Regions from separate parts of the Homo sapiens genome. Here regions 2, 3 and 4 are each linked to region 1. Evidence: promoter capture Hi-C in human tissues and cell types (Jung and others, 2019). All regions are on one chromosome and are shown on one strand. The core of a region is centred on a gene start or on the middle of the fragment in contact, and the rest is flanking DNA. Distances in the headings are between cores, read along the strand shown.

Evidence for each region. Contacts are between HindIII fragments. The study calls those that stand out against the background at their distance.
Region 2: a fragment that was not itself captured here is called in contact with the fragment with the promoter of SLC30A5 in region 1 in 1 of the 25 tissues and cell types used here (lymphoblastoid cells).
Region 3: a contact is called between a fragment that was not itself captured here and the fragment with the promoter of SLC30A5 in region 1, in 2 of the 25 tissues and cell types used here (IMR-90 fibroblasts and stomach).
Region 4: a contact is called between a fragment that was not itself captured here and the fragment with the promoter of SLC30A5 in region 1, in 1 of the 25 tissues and cell types used here (hippocampus).

The regions. Positions count from the first base shown.
Region 1 is chr5:69,092,728-69,095,302 of GRCh38, reverse strand. SLC30A5 (solute carrier family 30 member 5) reads right to left here and starts at 1,289. Exons shown (of 16, transcript NM_022902.5): 1 at 965-1,289. The coding sequence starts at 1,047. RefSeq lists silencers at 507-801, 847-1,136, 1,467-1,576 and an enhancer at 1,267-1,366. The HindIII fragment of the contact is 15,344 bases long and covers 1-2,575 here.
Region 2 is chr5:69,446,384-69,448,958 of GRCh38, reverse strand. No RefSeq gene overlaps it. Among named protein-coding and RNA genes, the nearest start is that of MARVELD2, 33 kb to the right of the region's middle. The HindIII fragment of the contact is 6,025 bases long and covers 1-2,575 here.
Region 3 is chr5:69,382,943-69,385,517 of GRCh38, reverse strand. RAD17 (RAD17 checkpoint clamp loader component) reads right to left here. Exons shown (of 19, transcript NM_133338.3): 8 at 585-721. Among named protein-coding and RNA genes, the nearest start is that of RAD17, 14 kb to the right of the region's middle. The HindIII fragment of the contact is 4,917 bases long and covers 1-2,575 here.
Region 4 is chr5:69,364,270-69,366,844 of GRCh38, reverse strand. AK6 (adenylate kinase 6) reads left to right here. Exons shown (of 5, transcript NM_016283.5): 2 at 250-342. It overlaps TAF9 (TATA-box binding protein associated factor 9), which reads left to right. Exons shown (of 3, transcript NM_003187.5): 2 at 250-342; 3 at 1,091-2,102. The coding sequence starts at 1,108. The coding sequence ends at 1,902. Among named protein-coding and RNA genes, the nearest start is that of AK6, 4.0 kb to the left of the region's middle. The HindIII fragment of the contact is 3,949 bases long and covers 1-2,575 here.

The sequences.
Region 1 (2,575 bases), core at 40-2,539:
TTTGAACCCGGGAAGCGGAGGTTGTCGTGAGCCGAGATCGCGCCATTGCACTCCAGCCTGGGAACAAGAGCGAAACTCCGTCTCAAAAAAAAAAAAAAAAAAAAAAGTTACGTTATAATGCTATTACTACAGTTCTAAAGAATTTATCACATTTATCACTTTCTTTAAATATCAAAGAAGTATTTATTCCAGAATGGGAAGAACTCGTTAAAAATGGAGGCAAAGAACACCAGTTCCAGCCAAATTGCAGGGCTGTATTTTGTGCATTTTCGACACTATCTCAGAACTTAGGAAGGATACACTAGAAAGTGGTCGCTGCACCTGTTGGTCCCTTACTTTTCGGGTTGGTGGGAGAATTGAAGAGAGGAAGTGGGAATTTTCACTTTTTACTCTATGAATTGCTTTGCTGTTTAGATTTTTTTTTGACAACGAGGACACATTTCTTATTTAAGAACAAAATAAAAAAAGAAAACGGGGCTGGACCCTCGATGTGCTCAGTTAATCTGAACATCCAAGTTCCCCTGAACATCCAAGTTCACGTATGTACTTTGGTTTCGTCGCCTGAAGAGAGCTGATGGTGACACCTTCCCCTAATTTATGCAGGGAAACGTCAGAAAGGTTAAGTAGTCGCCAGACTATTTCAGGGAGAAACAGCCAAGAGAAAGGCTTCTCACAGATCAGAAAAACCTCTCACGTGAACTGGCGGGCAGTTCTAAGACTGACTGTCTGCCTTGTAACCCAGAAATTCAAGCAGAAGCTTTTTGGCTTTAGCGCCTTCCTTCTGCAGCAGGCACCCGAAGAGCCCGGGGAGCCCGGAGGCAGCCTGCGCGCAGGGAGGCAGGCAGGGGGAGAGGGCGCGCCGACCCCGGGACGTCCCGGGCTGTCAGCGGAGACCGGAGGGAGGCCGGAGAAAGTGCATCCTGAGCGACCCGGCCGGTCGCTGCCTTCCGGATCGGTCCCTTACCGAGCGCTGGGTACGTCCACCGGCCCAAGGCCGCCGCCGCCGCCGGGGCCGGCCAGCACGTCCCCGCCGTATTTCTCCTCCATCCCGGGGCTCACGAGCCGCCGCCGCTGCCCCTGTCGCGGGGTCTCCTCATGTCTCGCCGCTGCCGCGGAACAGCGGGTGCAGGCGCGTCACTCCCCCATGGCAGAGACCCCGTCGGGCTCCTGCAGGCCGGGCCGCCACTGCCGCCGTCGCCGGCTCCGGCTCACTAGCACACACGCGTCGGGACTAGGCCGCGATCAGTTCCGGCGGCGCCAGGTTCCCGGGAAGCAGCGGCGGTAGGGACGTTGCCAAGCCACGTCATCAGGCCCAGCAACCCTCACTCCCGGGGGAGTGCCCAGCCTTGCGTCTGCGCAAGCAGAACACTCGCCTTTCCTCGTCCCTTAGGCTCCTCCCGCCACGTTGTGTCGCATTGAAGCTCCGCCTCCTATCAGCCTCTCCGGGTGGCGCTCCCTGTGCACTTACCTGTCCCTACAGTGCCACCTATGGGCCGTCAGAAGTACAGCGGATTCCTGTAGGGCAGAGGGGGAGGGCGTGGAAAATGTACAGCGTGTGTGATTAAACAAAGCTCACCAATCTTTTCCTCTGCGTTAGGGATTCTTTTTTTTTTTGTTTTGAGATGGAGTTTCGCTCCTGTTGCCCAGGCTGGAGTGCAATGGCGCGATCTCGGCTCACGGCAACTTCCACCTCCCAGGTTCAAGCGATTCTCCTGCCTCAGTCTCCCAAGTAGCTGGGATTACAGGCATGTGCCACCACACCTGGCTAATTTTGTATTTTTAGTAGAGACGGGGTTTCTCCATGTTGGTCAGGCTGGTCTCGAACTCCTGACCTCAGGTGATCCACCCACCTCGGCCTCCCAAAGTGCTGCGATTACAGGAGTGAGCCACCGCACTCGGCCTAGAGATTCTTAATCTAGGTTAACATACCCTCTGCCTCTAAGTTTTTGTGAGTATGGATCATTTTTGTGATGAGAAGGCCCGAAGTCTTAAAAGTTCACGTGCCCTTCCCCCAACCAGAGATAACTATTTTTGAAGCTGTAGAGAATCAATTACAAATAGTGGTACGGCCATTTCTTTTGAACAATGCCTTTGATGGACTTTGGAGAGGAGAAACTAGTATTGACCAAAATTTGCCTCCTCAGCAAACTATCCCAGGGCAATTTTCTAGGAGTGACCACGTGCGAAACTTCATGGCCTTCTCTCCTACTCCTAAGGGAACCTAAAGGCAATTTCCAGATTTCTAAAGAAACATTCTTATCCTGGGCAACATGGCAAAACCCTGTCTCTATCAAAAATACAAAAACAATTAGCCAGGCGTGGCATATGCCTGTGGTCCCAGCCACTCAGGAGGGAGAGGCGGAAGGATCGCTTGAACGTGGGAGGTCAAGGTTGCAATAAGGCATGATCATGCTACTGTGCTCCAGCCTGGGCAACAGAGCAAGACCGTCTCTGGAAAAAAAAAAAAAAAGAAAGAAAAAGAAAGGATTCTTCTTTGCCACAGGGAGCCTGGGGTCATCTATCAAATAAAGTAACGGAGGAAGGTGACTGCTTTTGTGGCTTTTTGTGTGGGGCC
Region 2 (2,575 bases), core at 45-2,544, 350 kb before region 1:
GTTGCAGTGGGCCGAGATCACACTACTGCACTCCAGCCCAGGCGAGGGAGTGAGACAGTGTCTCAAAACAACAACAACAACAACAACAACATTACTTAAAAAAAAACTGTGAACATACTTTTGTTCAAACATGTATACAGTATAATTGTTAGAAATTGAGGGCCAAGCACGGTGGCTCACGCCTGTAATCCCAGCACTTGGGAGGCCAAGGCGGGCAGATCTGGAGGTCAGGACTTCGAGACCAGCCTGGCCAACATAGTGAAACCCCGTCTCTACTAAAAATACAAAAAATTAGCCGGGCATGGTGGCAGGCGCCTGTAATCCCAGCTACTCGGGAGGCTGAGGCAGGAGAATCGCTTGAACCTGGGAGGCAGAGGTTGTAGTGAACTGAGATCGTACCATTGCACTCCAGCCCTGGCAACAGTGCAAAACTCCGTCTCAAAAAAAAAAAAAAAATTTGAGATATACCAGCCTGGGCAACATGGAAACCCCATCTCTTAAAAAAAAAAATTAGCTGGGCGTGGTAGCTTGCTCCTGTGGTCCCAGCTGCCCAGCTGCTCCGGAGTCTGAGGCTGGAGGGCTGCTTGAGCCTGGAAAGCAGAGGTTGCAGTGAGTTGAGATCACATCACTGCACTCCAGCTTGGGAGACAGAGCAAGACCCTGTCCAGGCGCAGTGGTTCACACTTGTAATCCCAGCACTTTGGGAGGCCGAGGTGGGTGGATCACTTGAGGCTAGGAATTCGAGATCAGCCTGACCAACATGGTGAAACCCCGTCACTACTAAAAATACAAAAATTAGCTGGGCGTGGTGGCTCACACCTGTGATCCCACCTACTCGGGAGGCTGAGGCAGGAGAGTCACTTGAACTCTGGAGGTGGAGGTTGCAGTGAGGCGAGATTGCGCCACTGCACTCCAGCCTGGGCAACAGAGAGAGACTCCGTCTTAAAAAAGAAAAAAAATTGAGGTAAAATACATGTATAATATATGTACAGTAAAAGGCACCAATTTTAAATGCTTAGCTTGATGGATTTTTAAATATGTATATATCCTGGTAAGCAACGAACCAGATGAAGGTATAGTACCCAGAAAGCTCCCTCATGCTCCTTCCCAGCCAATAAACCTCTCTCACAGGTAACCCCTATTCTGAATTCTATCATCAGAGGTTGGAGTTTCAAAATAACTTTCTTTTTTTTTTTTTTTTTCCGAGACTGAGTCTTGCTCTGTTGCCCAGGTTGAAGTGTGGTGGCGCGATCTCGGCTCACTACAAGCTCCGCCTCCCGGGTTCACGCCATTCTCCTGCCTCAGCCTCCCGAGTAGCTGGGACTACAAGTGCCCGCAACCAAGCCCAGCTAAATTTTTTGTATTTTTAGTGGAGACGCGGTTTCACCATGTTAGCCAGAACAGTCTCGATCTCCTGACCTCTTGATCCGCCTGCCTCAGCCTCCCAAAGTACTGGGATTACAGGCGTGAGTCACCGCACCTGGCCTCTCTTCTTTCTTTCCTTCCTTCCTTCCTTTCTCTCTCTCTCTCTTCCCTTCCTTCCTTCTTTTCTTCTTTTTCTTTCTTCTTTCTTTTCTTCTTTCTCTTTCTTTTCTCTTTCCCTCCCTCCCTCCCTTCCTCTCTCTTTCTCTCCTTCCTTCTTTCTCTTTCTTCTTTCTCTTTCCCCCTCCCCTCCCCTCCCCTCCCCTCCCCTCCCTTCCCTTCCCTTCCTTCTGCAGAGTCTTACTCTGTCACCCAGGCTGCAGTGCAGTGGCATGGTCTCAGCTAACTGCAACCTCCACCTCCTGGGGTCAAGCAATTCTCATGCCTCAACCTCTCGAGTAGCTGAGATTACAGGCGTGCACCACCACACCAGGCTAATTTTTGTACTTTTTTTTTTTTTTTTCTGAGACAGAGTCTTGCTCTGTCGCCCAGGCTGGGGTGCAGTGGCACGATCTCAGCTCACTGCAACCTCCACCTCTGAGGTTCAAGCGGTTCTCGTGCCTCAGCCTCCCGGGACTACCTCCAGGGACTACAGTGTGCGACAACACGCCCAGCTAATTTTTGTATTTTCAGCAGAGAAGGGTTTTTGCCATGTTGGCCAGGCTGTTCTCAAACTCCTGGCTTCAAGTGATCCACCCACATCAGCCTCCTAAAGGGCTGGGGTTACTGGCATGAGCCACCACCCCTGACCTAATCAATTTTCTATAATAAATATATTACCTATATACTTTTTAAAAAAGCTTTTTATAACTTTTATTATTCAAAAGAAGTCATTTTGATAGTCTATAGCCACCTTATTATTTAACACAATGAAAAGTATATTTTGAGTATCTAGCCACCAGTTATTGAGCAAGTATCTTCGTGGTGTTTTACATTATTTAATTTTCACAACAATTTCGTCAGGTGGTATTATCGCCACATCACAGTTAAGGAGGCTGATGGTTGGAGATGTTAATTTGTCAAGGCCACATAGTAAGAAATGGAGTCTTGGTTGTGATGAGCTCAGAAGTTCACCTTCTTCGCCTTCTGCGGGGCTAAACCATCCCTCCTGCCTTCTGCCTATCCCCAGTTTGTCTATTATAGGACAAGTAGT
Region 3 (2,575 bases), core at 48-2,547, 290 kb before region 1:
GGAGGATTACCTTGAGGTCAGGAGTTTGAGACCAGCCTGGCCAACGTGGCAAAACTCCATCTCTACTAAATATACAAAAATTAGGCCGGCATGGTGGCAGGTTCCTGTAATCCCCACTACTCGGGGGAGGCTGAGGCATGAGAATTGTTTCAACCCAGGAGGCGGAGGTGGCAGTGAGCCAAGACTGCACCACTGCACTCCAGCCTAGGGGTTAAAGAGAGACTCTGTCTCAAAAAAAAAAAAAAAAAAAAGATTTTAGGCCAGGCATGGTGGCTCACGCCTGTAATCCCAGCACTTTGGGAGGCCACGGTGGGCATATCATGAGGTCAGGAGATCGAGACCATCCTGGCTAACACAGTGAAACCCCGTCTCTACTAAAAAATACAAAAAATTAGCCGGGCGTGGTGGCGGGCGCCTGTAGTCCCAGCTACTCCGGAGGCTGAGGCAGGAGAATGGCGTGAACCTGGGAGGCAGAGCTTGCAATGAGCTGAGATCGCGCCACTGCACTCCAGCCTGGGTGACAGTGACACAGCAAGACTCCATTTCAAAAAAAAAAAAAAAAAGATTTTAAAAGTTGTCCTTACTTCAACCAGAATTATCTTCTTATCAGTTCTCAGATCATCTCCAAGCATTTGTAACTTGTTATACTTTGTCGCTCTTAGTAGAAACTCTTTGAAAACTGCTATCTGAGACTGATAGGGAAACATATGGAAGCTTGATTCTGAAAGGAAACACATAACCACTTTTATTTTCAACAAATGATATACATTAATATTATACATCTGTATGTACACACACACATACTTGATGCATCTCACAATACTGTAGACTATTTCCCAATTAGGAAAAATCATTTAAATTTAAAATAGGATATTCCTTTCAAAGGACAAGAGTCAACATGTAGCCAGGCACAGTGGCTCACGCCTGTAATCCCAGCACTTTGGGAGGCCGAGGCAGGTGGATCGCTTGACCTCAGGAATTCAAGAGCAACCTGGGCAACATGGTGAAACCCGGTCTCTACAAAAAAATACACAAATTAGCCAGGTGTGGAGGCTTGTGCCTGTAGTTCTGGCTACTTGCAGGGCTGAGGCAGAGGGTGGGGGTAATAGCTTGAGCCCAGGAGGTGGAGGTTGCAGTGAGCCAAGATTGTGTCACTGCACTCCAGCCTGGGTGACAGAGTGAGACCCTGTGTAATATGGAGTTAACTGACCTAAGAACACAGCTGTCGGTATAACATTCATATAATTGGTAAAAATATCTATGACTGTGGCCTACCCAATGAAGAATCTCTAAATGAGTTCAAGCCTATAAATGAATTACCTTCAGTGATAAGGGTTTGGTTTGTTTGTTTTGAGACGGAATCTTGCTCTGTCGCCCAGGCTGGAGTGCAGTGGCGCAATCTTGGCTCACTGCAACCTCCACCTCCCAGGTTCAAGCAATTCTCCTGCCTCAGCCTCCTGAGTAGCTGGGATTACAGGAACACACCACCACGCCTGGCTAATTATTGAATTTTTAGTAGAGACGGGGTTTCTCCATGTTGGTCAGGCTGGAGTGATAAAGGTTTAACAACAAAAACAGAATAACTGATTAGTGAACTTGAGAATGAGGGAAGCTCTCTGAAGGCATGTTTCATATTGAAGACTGTTTAAGTTAAAGCTTATCAGACTGTCAAAAGTAATGCTACTATTTAGAAAGCAGTAAAAGCCAGATGCAGGAACACACGTCTGTAGTCCCAGCTACCCCAGAGGTTGGGTCGTGAGAATCCCTTAAATGCTTAAGAAGTTCATTCTAGACAATATAGTGAGACTTTCTCTCTTAAAAAAATGATAATAATAATGGGCCGGGCGTGGTGGCTCACGCCTGTAATCCCAGCACTTTTGGAGGCCGAGGTGGTTGGATCACCTGAGGTCAGGGGTTCGAAAACAACCTGACCAACGTGGTGAAACCCCATCTCTACTAAAAAATACAAAAATAAGCCGGGCATGGTGGTGGACGCCTGTAATCCCAGCTACTTGGGAGGCTGAGTCAGGAGAATTGCTTGAACCCAGGAGGCGGAGCTTGCAGTGAGACAAACCACTGCACTCCAGCCTGGGTGACAGAGCAAGACTCCATCTCAAAAAAAAAATAATAATAATAGTAATAATAATAATAAAGAAAAGAAAACAGTAAAAGCCCCAGCAGGATGGGATACTAGTAGCACAAGGGAGTACATTAAAGAAGAGTCCAGAGAAGGGATTTTGAGGAACACTCCACATTAAAATTATCCTTCTACAGAACCCTTTTCCCTTCAAAATGGCCTAGGAGATTTGGCTATCCCTAGTTTCACCACCTGGAGTTGCAATATGAAAAACTATGAAAGATAAAAATGATAGTGCTAAGGTACATAAGCATATGCATGAACTTATAACGTATTACATCTTTAAATTGGTACTATTGCCACGCATGGTAGCTCACGCCTATAATCCCAGCACTTTGGGAGGCAGAGGCAGGTGGATCACTTGAGGCCAGGAGTTCGAGACCAGACTGGCTAACATGGCAAAACCCCATCTCTACTAAAAATACAAAAACTAGCTGG
Region 4 (2,575 bases), core at 1-2,500, 270 kb before region 1:
GGAGGTTGCAGTGAGCCAAGATTGTGCCACTGCACTCCAGCCTGGGCGACAAGAGTGAAACTCTGTCTCAAAAAAAAAATTTTACATATGATTGCTAATTAGGAAATTTTTCATTTCAGTCGTCAAGAACTTTTAAGGGCAGAGGCCAGGTGAGACTCTGTCTCAAAAATAAAAGGAAAGGCAGAAGGTGGACCGCAGTGTGATAAGTAGTATTTCACAAACAGTATTTTTCTGTGGCTTGTCTTACAGGTACACCAGGGGTTGGAAAAACCACACTAGGCAAAGAACTTGCGTCAAAATCAGGACTGAAATACATTAATGTGGGTGATTTAGCTCGAGAAGGTAAGGGACACTTTGGTGTTAGATTTGTTTTGTTTTTTTTTTAAGGTCTGGTAAGTGGAGTGTTAGTGCTGGGTATTGTCATAGGGTACAAAAAACAGAGATTGCCATTAAAGAATATATACTCTGTTAGGGAATCCACAGAAATATTAAGTGTCTAATGCTATGTCCTGGTTATTTTGACCATTTTCCCTTCCGCCTTCAAAATGGCTGGCAATTCTTGTGAATAGTTGGGAAGGCTCCTATAAAGAGACTGGATTTCGGATAGGTAGAATGTGAATAAGGAGAATGTTTTTAAGTTGAACAAACAAAGGTTTGGTACTGCTAAACATATATATGAGCACAGTGAGTATATTGGTCTCACTGGAAAGAGACTGTTTTGAGCTCAGGTGTGGGACCTGACTATGCTATGGTATCTTAGATTAGTGTGAGATTTGCATGCAACTGCATATATTCTAAGATGATCATTGTTTTTATTTATTTTACCCTGTTTTCCCCTAATCTTTCATCGCTCCCTTATTTGTGTCTTCATCTTTTTATAGTCGACAATGATTTGTACATGGTAGGAACTCAATAAATTAAAGCGACCTTAAGTTGCCTCATTAAAATTAAGAAAACATATGGTTTAAATTTTAAAAATTTTTTTACAGTTTAACATAGATTTAAAATTTTTTTAAGTTCCTGACAGTTGCTACTAAAGTAACTATTTCAGATTGATCTAATGTACATATTTTTTTCAAATGATCTAAAGTCTGATCATCGGATATCATGGAGTCTGGCAAGACGGCTTCTCCCAAGAGCATGCCGAAAGATGCACAGATGATGGCACAAATCCTGAAGGATATGGGGATTACAGAATATGAGCCAAGAGTTATAAATCAGATGTTGGAGTTTGCCTTCCGATATGTGACCACAATTCTAGATGATGCAAAAATTTATTCAAGCCATGCTAAGAAAGCTACTGTTGATGCAGATGATGTGCGATTGGCAATCCAGTGCCGCGCTGATCAGTCTTTTACCTCTCCTCCCCCAAGAGATTTTTTATTAGATATTGCAAGGCAAAGAAATCAAACCCCTTTGCCATTGATCAAGCCATATTCAGGTCCTAGGTTGCCACCTGATAGATACTGCTTAACAGCTCCAAACTATAGGCTGAAATCTTTACAGAAAAAGGCATCAACTTCTGCGGGAAGAATAACAGTCCCGCGGTTAAGTGTTGGTTCAGTTACTAGCAGACCAAGTACTCCCACACTAGGCACACCAACCCCACAGACCATGTCTGTTTCAACTAAAGTAGGGACTCCCATGTCCCTCACAGGTCAAAGGTTTACAGTACAGATGCCTACTTCTCAGTCTCCAGCTGTAAAAGCTTCAATTCCTGCAACCTCAGCAGTTCAGAATGTTCTGATTAATCCATCATTAATCGGGTCCAAAAACATTCTTATTACCACTAATATGATGTCATCACAAAATACTGCCAATGAATCATCAAATGCATTGAAAAGAAAACGTGAAGATGATGATGATGACGATGATGATGATGATGACTATGATAATCTGTAATCTAGCCTTGCTGAATGTAACATGTATACTTGGTCTTGAATTCATTGTACTGATATTAAACATGCATGCTGGATGTTTTCAAGTTGTGTTTTAGAAAACTAATAATAATGAGTAAACACAGTTACCATACTTTTCAATTGAAATGAAGGTTTTTCATCAGCCTTAAAAGTGTAAGAAAAATAAAGTTGTCATTCATTCGATTGTTGGTGCTTTGGCAGTTATGTTTTTAAAAGCAATTTTCTCCTTGTTGTCACCAAGAGGAGTAACAGTTGGCAGTTGCAGCAATTTGCAGTACTGCAGTCTATTTTTGACCACTAGAGTGTCACCTTAAACGTCTTCAGATACATAGATCATAGTATGATCTCTGGTGTGTACGTCACTCTTGTGATCTGTTCTCTCAGATTGCTGAAGTATAACCATGACTCCCCTTTGGAGAGACCAGTTGGTCAGGATTTTTATTCATAGTGAATTCTTAACCTGCTTTGATTATCTTCCTCAATTGCCCAACTTCCTAGGTCCCATTTTTCTGTCCTTTTGGTTATATTAAGGACCCTTAGTGTCTCCCAGTATGTCTCCACTTTTTAAAAAAAAATTTATAAGTGTCTCTTTTTGCAGGTTAATTTTGAGCATCTTTGTTTTTCATATTCCTGATACTATAAGCCAGTATCATGTT